Regions from separate parts of the Homo sapiens genome. Here all the other regions are linked to region 1. Evidence: promoter capture Hi-C in 16 types of primary human blood cells and fetal thymus (Javierre and others, 2016). All regions are on one chromosome and are shown on one strand. Each heading gives the region's core, a stretch centred on a gene start or on the middle of the fragment in contact. The rest is flanking DNA. Distances are from core to core; before and after follow the strand shown.

Region 1 (2,644 bases), core at 145-2,644:
TTGAGCACTGAGTGAGCGAGACTCCGTCTGCAATCCCGGCACCTCGGGAGGCCGAGGCTGGCAGACCACTCGCGGTCAGGAGCTGGAGACCAGCCCGGCCAACTCGGCGAAACCCCGTCTCCACCAAAAAATACGAAAACCAGTCAGGTGTGGCGGTGCGCGCCTGCAATCCCAGGCACTCGGCAGGCTGAGGCAGGGGAATCAGGCAGGGAGGCTGCCGTGAGCCGAGATGGCGGCAGTACAGTCCAGCCTCGGCTCGGCATCAGAGGGAGACCATGCAAAGGGGAGACGAGGACCGTGCAAAGGGGGGAGGGAGATGGGGAGGGAGACAGAGAGGGGGAGGGGGAGGGGAAAAGCTGAGTGATTCTTGCAAAAGGTATATATTATGCTTCCAGGCATCATATGCTCAAGACCTGGGGACTATGTGGGTATAAGTAACTGATTGTATAACGCCACTGGATGAAATCCAGTAATGTCCTTTTTCACTAAATGTGGTTATACACCCTTACAGCATGTTACAAAGGGAACACAAAAAAATAAGTTTCACACTGGACCTTGTTCAGGAGCAGTGTTGACCTATTTCACTGACCTATCCTCAACTGCCACTAGGTGGCCCTCTTTTCCAGCTTCCAAGGGCCTACATTGGGCCTATGCGGCCTCAGTATAGCCTCAGATTTCCTGCTATGAAGCTTAATGAGCCCAGCACTGGCTCTAGCTATGGTTTGTTCCTTTTTGGGTGGAGTGGATGTGTGGTTCTTGGAGAATCTACTACTTTCCCGTGAGTGCAGTGGGAGACTGCATTAGAGAATCTAGCTATCCTGACTGCCTAAACAGAGCCTACCATAATTTTTCACTCAAATCTTTAGTGTAAATATAATTGTCTTTGCTTTCTGTAATAATATCTTTGAAGAAATACGGATTTAAAAAAATCATTTAATATTCTCAGACCTGCAACATGGGAAAAATATTATTATTATTATTATCATTTTTGCAGTTGAGAGGGCTGAAATCTCGCAGGGTGATTAAGTTTATTAGCCTCTCTAAAGTCTCAGTTTCCCACTCTGTAAAATGGAAGGGTCCCTATCTCTTTCCTACTGCTTTGTGAGTATTTAAGGGGATGGAATTTGGGAAGCGCTCAGCACCCAGTCTACTATTGGCACAGGGTTTTAAAGCCACCCAGAGGCCGAGGCGTCAACCCTCCGTTTCCCTCCCGGTGCTCCTTCCAGCGCCCGGTGTGGTCGATTTGGCGGGGGTGGAGCGCCAGGCGCGTGCAGAGCCGGGCGGACCAGCCTCTCCGGCCAAGGCGGGAGGCGGAGCTCGTACTCAAGAGCCGCCTCCCGGGCGGCTGGGGCGGTCCCCGAGCTGCTTTCCGCGTTCTCCCCTCTCCGCGGGCAGTGCTAGCTCGCCGCGGCCGCCTCCGGGGTGAGTACGCTGGCTCCGCCGGCGCCCGGGAAATGCAGTTCCCTGGACACGGGCGCCGTGCGAGGGTAGCCGGGCGACGGCCGGGGTCAGTCCCAGGGCTGTAGCGGGGCGGGCGTGGGGATGACGTGGCGGCGTCCGTGGGGCAGTCCCGCCTCAGCCGGAGCGGTGGGCCGGGCCGGGGGCCTACGGAGGCCGAGCCTGGCGGGAGGCACCGGCTCAGGTGCTGGCGTTCCGCGCGGCGCCGCCTCTGCTGCGGGCCGGGGGAGCCAGACGAGGTGCTGCCGGGTAGGAAAAAATCCAGGGCTCATTCATACCCCAGGTCACGATTCCGGGGTCGCCCCCAGCACTTCTCCGCCGGGTGCATCAACCTGAAAAAGCCCCTTCTTCCTGGAAACCCTCCTTCTCCAGCGTTTCAACGGGGAAACTGATCAGCTGACACCAGCCCCAGTCCTGCGAGGGGCCGGCGACCTTTGACCTTTCTCCAAAGGGGTTGGTCACCTGGATTATAAAAGACTTCGGAGACAGCCATCCAGTGTTTGTTGATCTGTATCCCTTGATGTTCTGTCTTCCATTAGATAAGGGCTGTTAATTCTTGGTTTGAAAAAAAACAGACAAAGTCCAAAGGACTCTGCATCGAGGAGAGGCCTATGGGTTGGTAGCCTTAGGAGAGTAGTTATCAACAGTGGGTGGGTGTGCACACTGTTGCAAAGTGTTCCAGAGTGGGTGAGGGATGGGGACGTGGCGGTGGTGAGGGTACTGGTAGACCTCCTCAGCCGTTTGGTGATGAAAAGGAGGAAAAAGAAAATGGTAATCTGAGCGTGGAGGCGAGTTGTGGCTTTTTTTTTTTTTTTTAAATTTTTAAAGAAAGGAAAATAACACCTTTAAGATGCAAGAAAATCAAGGAGAGATCAGGATGAATAGGATTCAGGGTCCGGATTGAGAAACTGGGATTCAGAAGGGAGGGCTATTCCCGAGACCCAGGCGGGGAGTGCTGGAAGGTCTCTCTTGGGAGAGGAGATAATGCTTGATTGGATATAGTTCAGAAGTTTTTGGAATTTTGTCTTCTAGAGCAGGTTTGTTCTTTATGGAAATTGTAAACCCCATGAAATTGCAATAACTTTCGTCTACCTATAGCTTTGATCAGATTGAAAACATACGTTGTGAAAAAGTACTGACCTGGATTGAACTGTTTGACTACATAATCTAAGGGGAAGTGGATAGA
Region 2 (2,644 bases), core at 108-2,607, 860 kb before region 1:
AGCCATGATCACACATCTGCACTCCAGCCTGGGTGACAGAGCAACAAATTATCTAAACAATAACAACAACAATAAAAACAAACAAACAGAAAAGAAAAAACAATCAGAGTTGATATTTTCCTAAGACTCCTAACTGGTCCTAAGAGTAGCAAGATTTAGTTAGGGGAATAATGGTTATTTTTCCTAAATTACTACTTTTATCTTCAAGTACTGAACACTACTAGTGCATACACAATATACATTGTAAAAATAAAGAACAACAGCACCAGCCTGGACAACATGGCAAGACCCTGTCTCTACAAAGTAATTAAAATAGCTGGGTGTGGTGGCATGCACTTGTAGCCCCAGCTACTGCGGGGGAAGGGGGCAGTGGCAGGGCATGGCTGAGGCAGGAGGGTTGACCTGAGCCCAGGAGTTTGAGGTTGCAGTGAGCTATGATCACACCACTGCACTCCAGCCTGGGCAGCAGAGCGAGACCCCATCTCTAAAAATAAAAATAAAAAAATAAGACAGCAGAGATAGTAAAACATCTTAAAACTGAGCTATAAACTCTCATAAGGATCCTTTCTGGTTTCATATCTGGCACTTCATACTACTGTCTGATCTAGATGTTACAGAGAAACACATTCCTTGAGGCTTTGTACATTCCTTCCCATTTTCTTTCAAGATTCCATCCTACAGGGCACAGGAATGAAGCATCCTGATACAATTCAAATAAAGTTTTGGCCTGATTAAGGGAGACCAGTCCTCTCTGCATTCTGAAATTCCTTTTTGGATGATCCATAGGAGGTCTTACTTTTTTTTCACTTCCCTGCACCCCTGGCCAAGGATATTCAATATCCAAGAAACCAAATACCAATTTTCTTGTAGCTTTCACATTTCCCATCAACATGACATAGATTAAAGACCAAAAGACTTCTGTTCCATTCTGAGAGATGTGAGTCCCATTTCCATGTGAAGGAAATCTGACCGTTCCCGATTTACAGCTACTGAGGGCCTAAAATATTTGTTCTGAGAATTTCTCAGGCCTATATTTATTACATTTTAATGCACATAAAACAAAGCTGAATTCCTAGAATTTGCTGTAAAGAAGTATACTTCAAGTATTCAATCAACACATACTGTTTTCAATTCATTTATTCAATGTGAAAATATTTACACTCTTGTATAAAAAAGCTCTTTTCAAAAAATGTGAATGGAAATGAGGTAAAATAAATAAAATTGAAGTAGTTCAAAATAATCTAATCGGTAATAATATAGTAAACCACATGATTATACCCTTAGAAGTAAACATGTGACAAGCATGAAAAACTAAAAGGATTTGTTAGAGGCATGTGAACCAGAGCAACTCCATCTTAAACAGGAGCCGGGCAAAATGAGGGTGAAATCTATTGGGCTGCATTCCCAGATGGTCAGTTAAGGCATTCTAAGTCACAGGATGAGATAGGAGGTCAGCACAAAATACAGGTCTTAAAGACCTTGCTGATAAAACAGGTTGCAGTAAAGGAGCTGGCCAAAACCCACCAAAACCAAAATGGCGACGAGAGTGACCTCTGGTCGTCCTCACTGCTACACTCCCACCAGTGCCATGACAGTTTACAAATGTGCCATGACAGTTTAGACCCTATGTGGTCCAAAAAGGGGAGGCATGATTAATCCACTCCTTGGTTAGCATATCATCAAGAAACGACCATAAAGAATGGGCAACCAGGCCAGGTGCGGTGGCTTATGCCTGTAATCCCAGTACTTTGGGAGGCCAAGGCGGGCAGATCAACTGAGGTCGGAAGTTCAAGACCAACCTGACCAACATGGAGAAACCCTCACTCTACTAAAAACACAAAATTAGCCGGGCGTGGTGGCGCATGCCTGTAATCTCAGCTACTCGGGAGGCTGAGGCAGAATTGCTTGAACCTGGGAGGTGGAGGTTGTGGTGAGCCGAGATCACGCCATTGCACTCCAGCCTGGGCAACAAGAACGAAAACTCCATCTCAAAGGAAAAAAAAAAAAGGGCAACCAGCAGCCCTCAGGGCTGCTCTATGTAGTAGCCATTCTGTTATTCCTTCATTTTCTTAATACTTGCTTTGACTTTTGCACTGTGGGGTCACCCTGAATTCTTTCTTGTGTGAGATCCAAGAACCCTCTCCTGGGGTCTGGATCATGACCCGTTTCCTGTAACAGATTCAAGTGTTTTTCTTTTATTTTCTATAGTATACTCCTTTAAGATGTCAAAATCAGAGTATTTATATAATTTGCCAAAGGCTTGATATGCAACTTTTCATACAACCAGTCTATTTCACAGTGACAGTGTTTCAAACACTCTCCCTCTTCTTTTTGGGTAGTCATTCATTAATTTCCCATTTGGGCACACCTCACTGGTTATAAGACACATAACCAACTATGCCACATCTTGTTACTCTGGGCATATTTTCAGCAACAGGAAAAACCACAGTGTATGTTACTTCAGAGGCTTTCCTATAATGGTAATGTCTTACATCTGCTAAAGTACCTCTCCACTGTCTACAGGACAAAGCCCAGTTTTTTTTTTTTTTTTTTCCTGTAACAAAGCTCCCTCAAACCTACCTTTTCAACCTTATCTTCCATTAGTCTTCTCTATCAGCTTTTTGTTCCAGCCAAACTGGTTTTC
Region 3 (2,644 bases), core at 69-2,568, 540 kb before region 1:
ACTATTCCTCTCCCACATGGCCTCTAATGATATGGCCAGAGTTGAAAGGATGTTGTAGGGCAAAAACAGCCATATACAATACATAACGAATGGGCATGGCTGTGTTCCAATAAAGCTTCATTTATAAAAACAGCTGGTGGGCCAGAGTTAGCCTGTGAGCCATAGTTTGTCAACCCCAGGTTTAGACTTTTATGACATAACTAAAATATTTTTAAAGCGTATTTGTGTACCACAAAATACTTTTTCCCATTAACCAACTGATTAAATAAGCCTCTGAGGCCTCCCTTAGCATCCTTTCAACTCTGACCATATCATTAGAGGCCATGTGGGAGAGGAATAGTGCCTGCTATAGCTGATTCATTGAGTCAAGACTCAGTGGCCTCAGAGGTGTCTGTTGACCTGTCCTAGATATGGAGTGGCCTTAAAGCAGTGCCTCTGGCCATAGCTTCAGCCGAGCTGGGCTGTAAAGTGGAGAGAAGAAGGACCTGGTGGCACTGACCACATGCAGGCAAGACTCGGTTCTGTGGGACAAGGTGCCCTTTCAATAGTAGAGGTAGAAAACTCACTGGTTTGAAGCCAACTCAGCCGCAGCACTGTGCAGGGGTATGGCAGGTGCTCTGAGGGACCCCTCCTTGAAGTGGTGAGTCCTGGTGACTGTCATGCTGCTGTCCTTGGCCTCAGGGGGCTGCCAGCACTAACCCAGCAGGCCAAAAGGAATCAGGACTGAGTTGATCCCAGTTCCCATAGTCCCCAGCTCCCACAGTCCTTGGAGGTGGTATTTCCTGGGTCCAGGGACTCCAGCCCTGTAACAGGGAGCTGGTTGTATGTGTGACTTGTGGTAACTCATGCAGTAGTTAAGGCTTCTCCTGTGGTGATTTTTCTAGGAGGCTAGTGCAGGACCAGAGAGCATCAGTAATGGGGCTCAACATTAAGTGATTGTTTTCATGCTTTTTTTTTTCCACCCTAGAAATGAGGAGACAGCAGCAAGGCCAACATGATTCACGACCCACTATGATGCTGACCTCAAACAGAAGGTATATTTGTGTTCACACACATCTTTTGGCTGGAGCTGAAGGGCGGTCAGCCCCCAGCAAAAGAGAAAGAAAGAAAAACCATACCTGCTTGGTGGTAAGTTCTTTGCTCCGACTTCTCCCCTGGGGTCCACTTTGAACAATCCGGTGCAAAGGATCGATCAAGGAGTAGCTTTACCAAGGAGCCGCTGCCTTGTTCAGGACAGGAGTATTAGCTTATTCTCTTGCTTTTCTCACTGTGAACACTTGGCTTGCAGGCTGAGGCCGAGATTCCCACTGAAGTAAAGGCAGTGCTTCCTCTTCCCGTCCTAGTCATAGGTTATGATTTCCCCGGATATGAGACAATCTTGTCTCTCACCTATATTTCAGTCCAAGTCAGATGTAGGCACTAAGCGGCTCCATTGCCCCTCCTAAGTCCCAAGTCCAGCACTTGAACTAGCAAATGAAGAGATTACCGTATTTGTTCTCATTATGTTCTCCCTACTTTTTTCTTTCAGGTCTCTTCACTACAAAAACACAGGAAAAGGGGAAGAGAGTGGCAAATATCCGCTTTGTCTAAGTAATTCTGAGTGCATTTCATCAGTCTGAGGGTCTCTGTCCTTTACCACTAGGGGCAACATTAATTTGAACCTAGATCTCCTTATACTTCCTCCTTTGTTGAAACCACCTCCCTGGATAGTGTTACTTGATGTGAAAGTGAGCAAAGTATTGATTTATGACGGTGCCAATCACCAGCATGGTTATGTAAGAGGGGGGCAGGCACACAGGGAGAGGGAAAGGGTGTGAGATGAGGGGGCTGAGCACAGTTCTCGAGAATGTGACCCCACCACTTTGATCTCAGAACAGAAGGCTGACCAGGAGTGGGGAGGATGGACCAGCTGAGGGCTCTTTCCTCTCCCGGGTCCTGCCAGAGGGGAGCTGAAGAGTCCTCACTCTTCAGCCTCAACCTTCTTATTCCCTAGCAGCAGGTGCTCCCAAGTGAACAGAATCAACAAAAGCCGAATGTGGTGGATACCAGGATGTGTTTCTTCTACTTGCTTTGTTTATAAAGATGCTTTATGGCAGGTGAGGGGAGTGGAAGTAACTGCTCCTACCTAAAAGGCAAACAAGTACAAGCCTCTGGCAACAGTAAAGCAGGGGCATGGGCCCCAACAAGAGAGGGAGAGGGAGACCACGATTGAGCAAACAGGTAGAAAAGAGAACCTGGGATTGCCAAAAAATGACCACAGTTGTCTTCAGGTGAACATTTGGACTTCCTTACATTTATTTATTGACTTAAGTTGTTATTATTTTGAAGTACATGCTTTAATCCAGCCCTGGTGAGAAAAGCCAGAATATCTAAGTATGATTTGTTTGTTTTGTTTTTAATTGGTTTCTTCTCTATCCAATTTGCACTTCCCAAGGGATGAGAAAGACTTGAGGCTGGGATTTCCTAGGGGTTGACATTTCTCAAGTGGATGCTTGCCTTGCTGTTTTCAACCAAGCGCAGAATGTAAGGTGCTTACACAGCTCACTGCTGGGGACTTACTGCCAGCAGTGGGGACTGGGACCCACAGCCATAGAGCTCTGTCCTTTTTCCAGTCACATTTCTGATTATCCACATGGGATTCTGC

What was found. The method cuts DNA at HindIII sites, captures the fragments that hold promoters and counts their contacts. A CHiCAGO score of 5 or more calls a contact.
Region 2: a fragment that was not itself captured here is called in contact with the fragment with the promoter of B4GALT4 in region 1 in 1 of 17 cell types (total B cells); the score reaches 5.0 in total B cells.
Region 3: the fragment with the promoter of NR1I2 here is called in contact with the fragment with the promoter of B4GALT4 in region 1 in 10 of 17 cell types (erythroblasts, M0 macrophages, monocytes and 7 more); the score reaches 15.6 in erythroblasts.

What each region holds. Positions count from the first base shown.
Region 1 is chr3:119,239,628-119,242,271 of GRCh38, reverse strand. B4GALT4 (beta-1,4-galactosyltransferase 4) reads left to right here and starts at 1,394. Exons shown (of 8, transcript NM_003778.4): 1 at 1,394-1,422. All of the region lies in intron 3 of B4GALT4-AS1 (B4GALT4 antisense RNA 1), which reads right to left. RefSeq lists silencers at 528-577, 1,228-1,707. The HindIII fragment of the contact is 11,429 bases long and covers 692-2,644 here.
Region 2 is chr3:120,098,916-120,101,559 of GRCh38, reverse strand. All of the region lies in intron 1 of GSK3B-DT (GSK3B divergent transcript), which reads right to left. Among named protein-coding and RNA genes, the nearest start is that of GSK3B-DT, 5.1 kb to the right of the region's middle. The HindIII fragment of the contact is 4,151 bases long and covers 1-2,644 here.
Region 3 is chr3:119,780,775-119,783,418 of GRCh38, reverse strand. NR1I2 (nuclear receptor subfamily 1 group I member 2) reads right to left here and starts at 1,318. Exons shown (of 9, transcript NM_003889.4): 1 at 1,119-1,318. The HindIII fragment of the contact is 6,406 bases long and covers 118-2,644 here.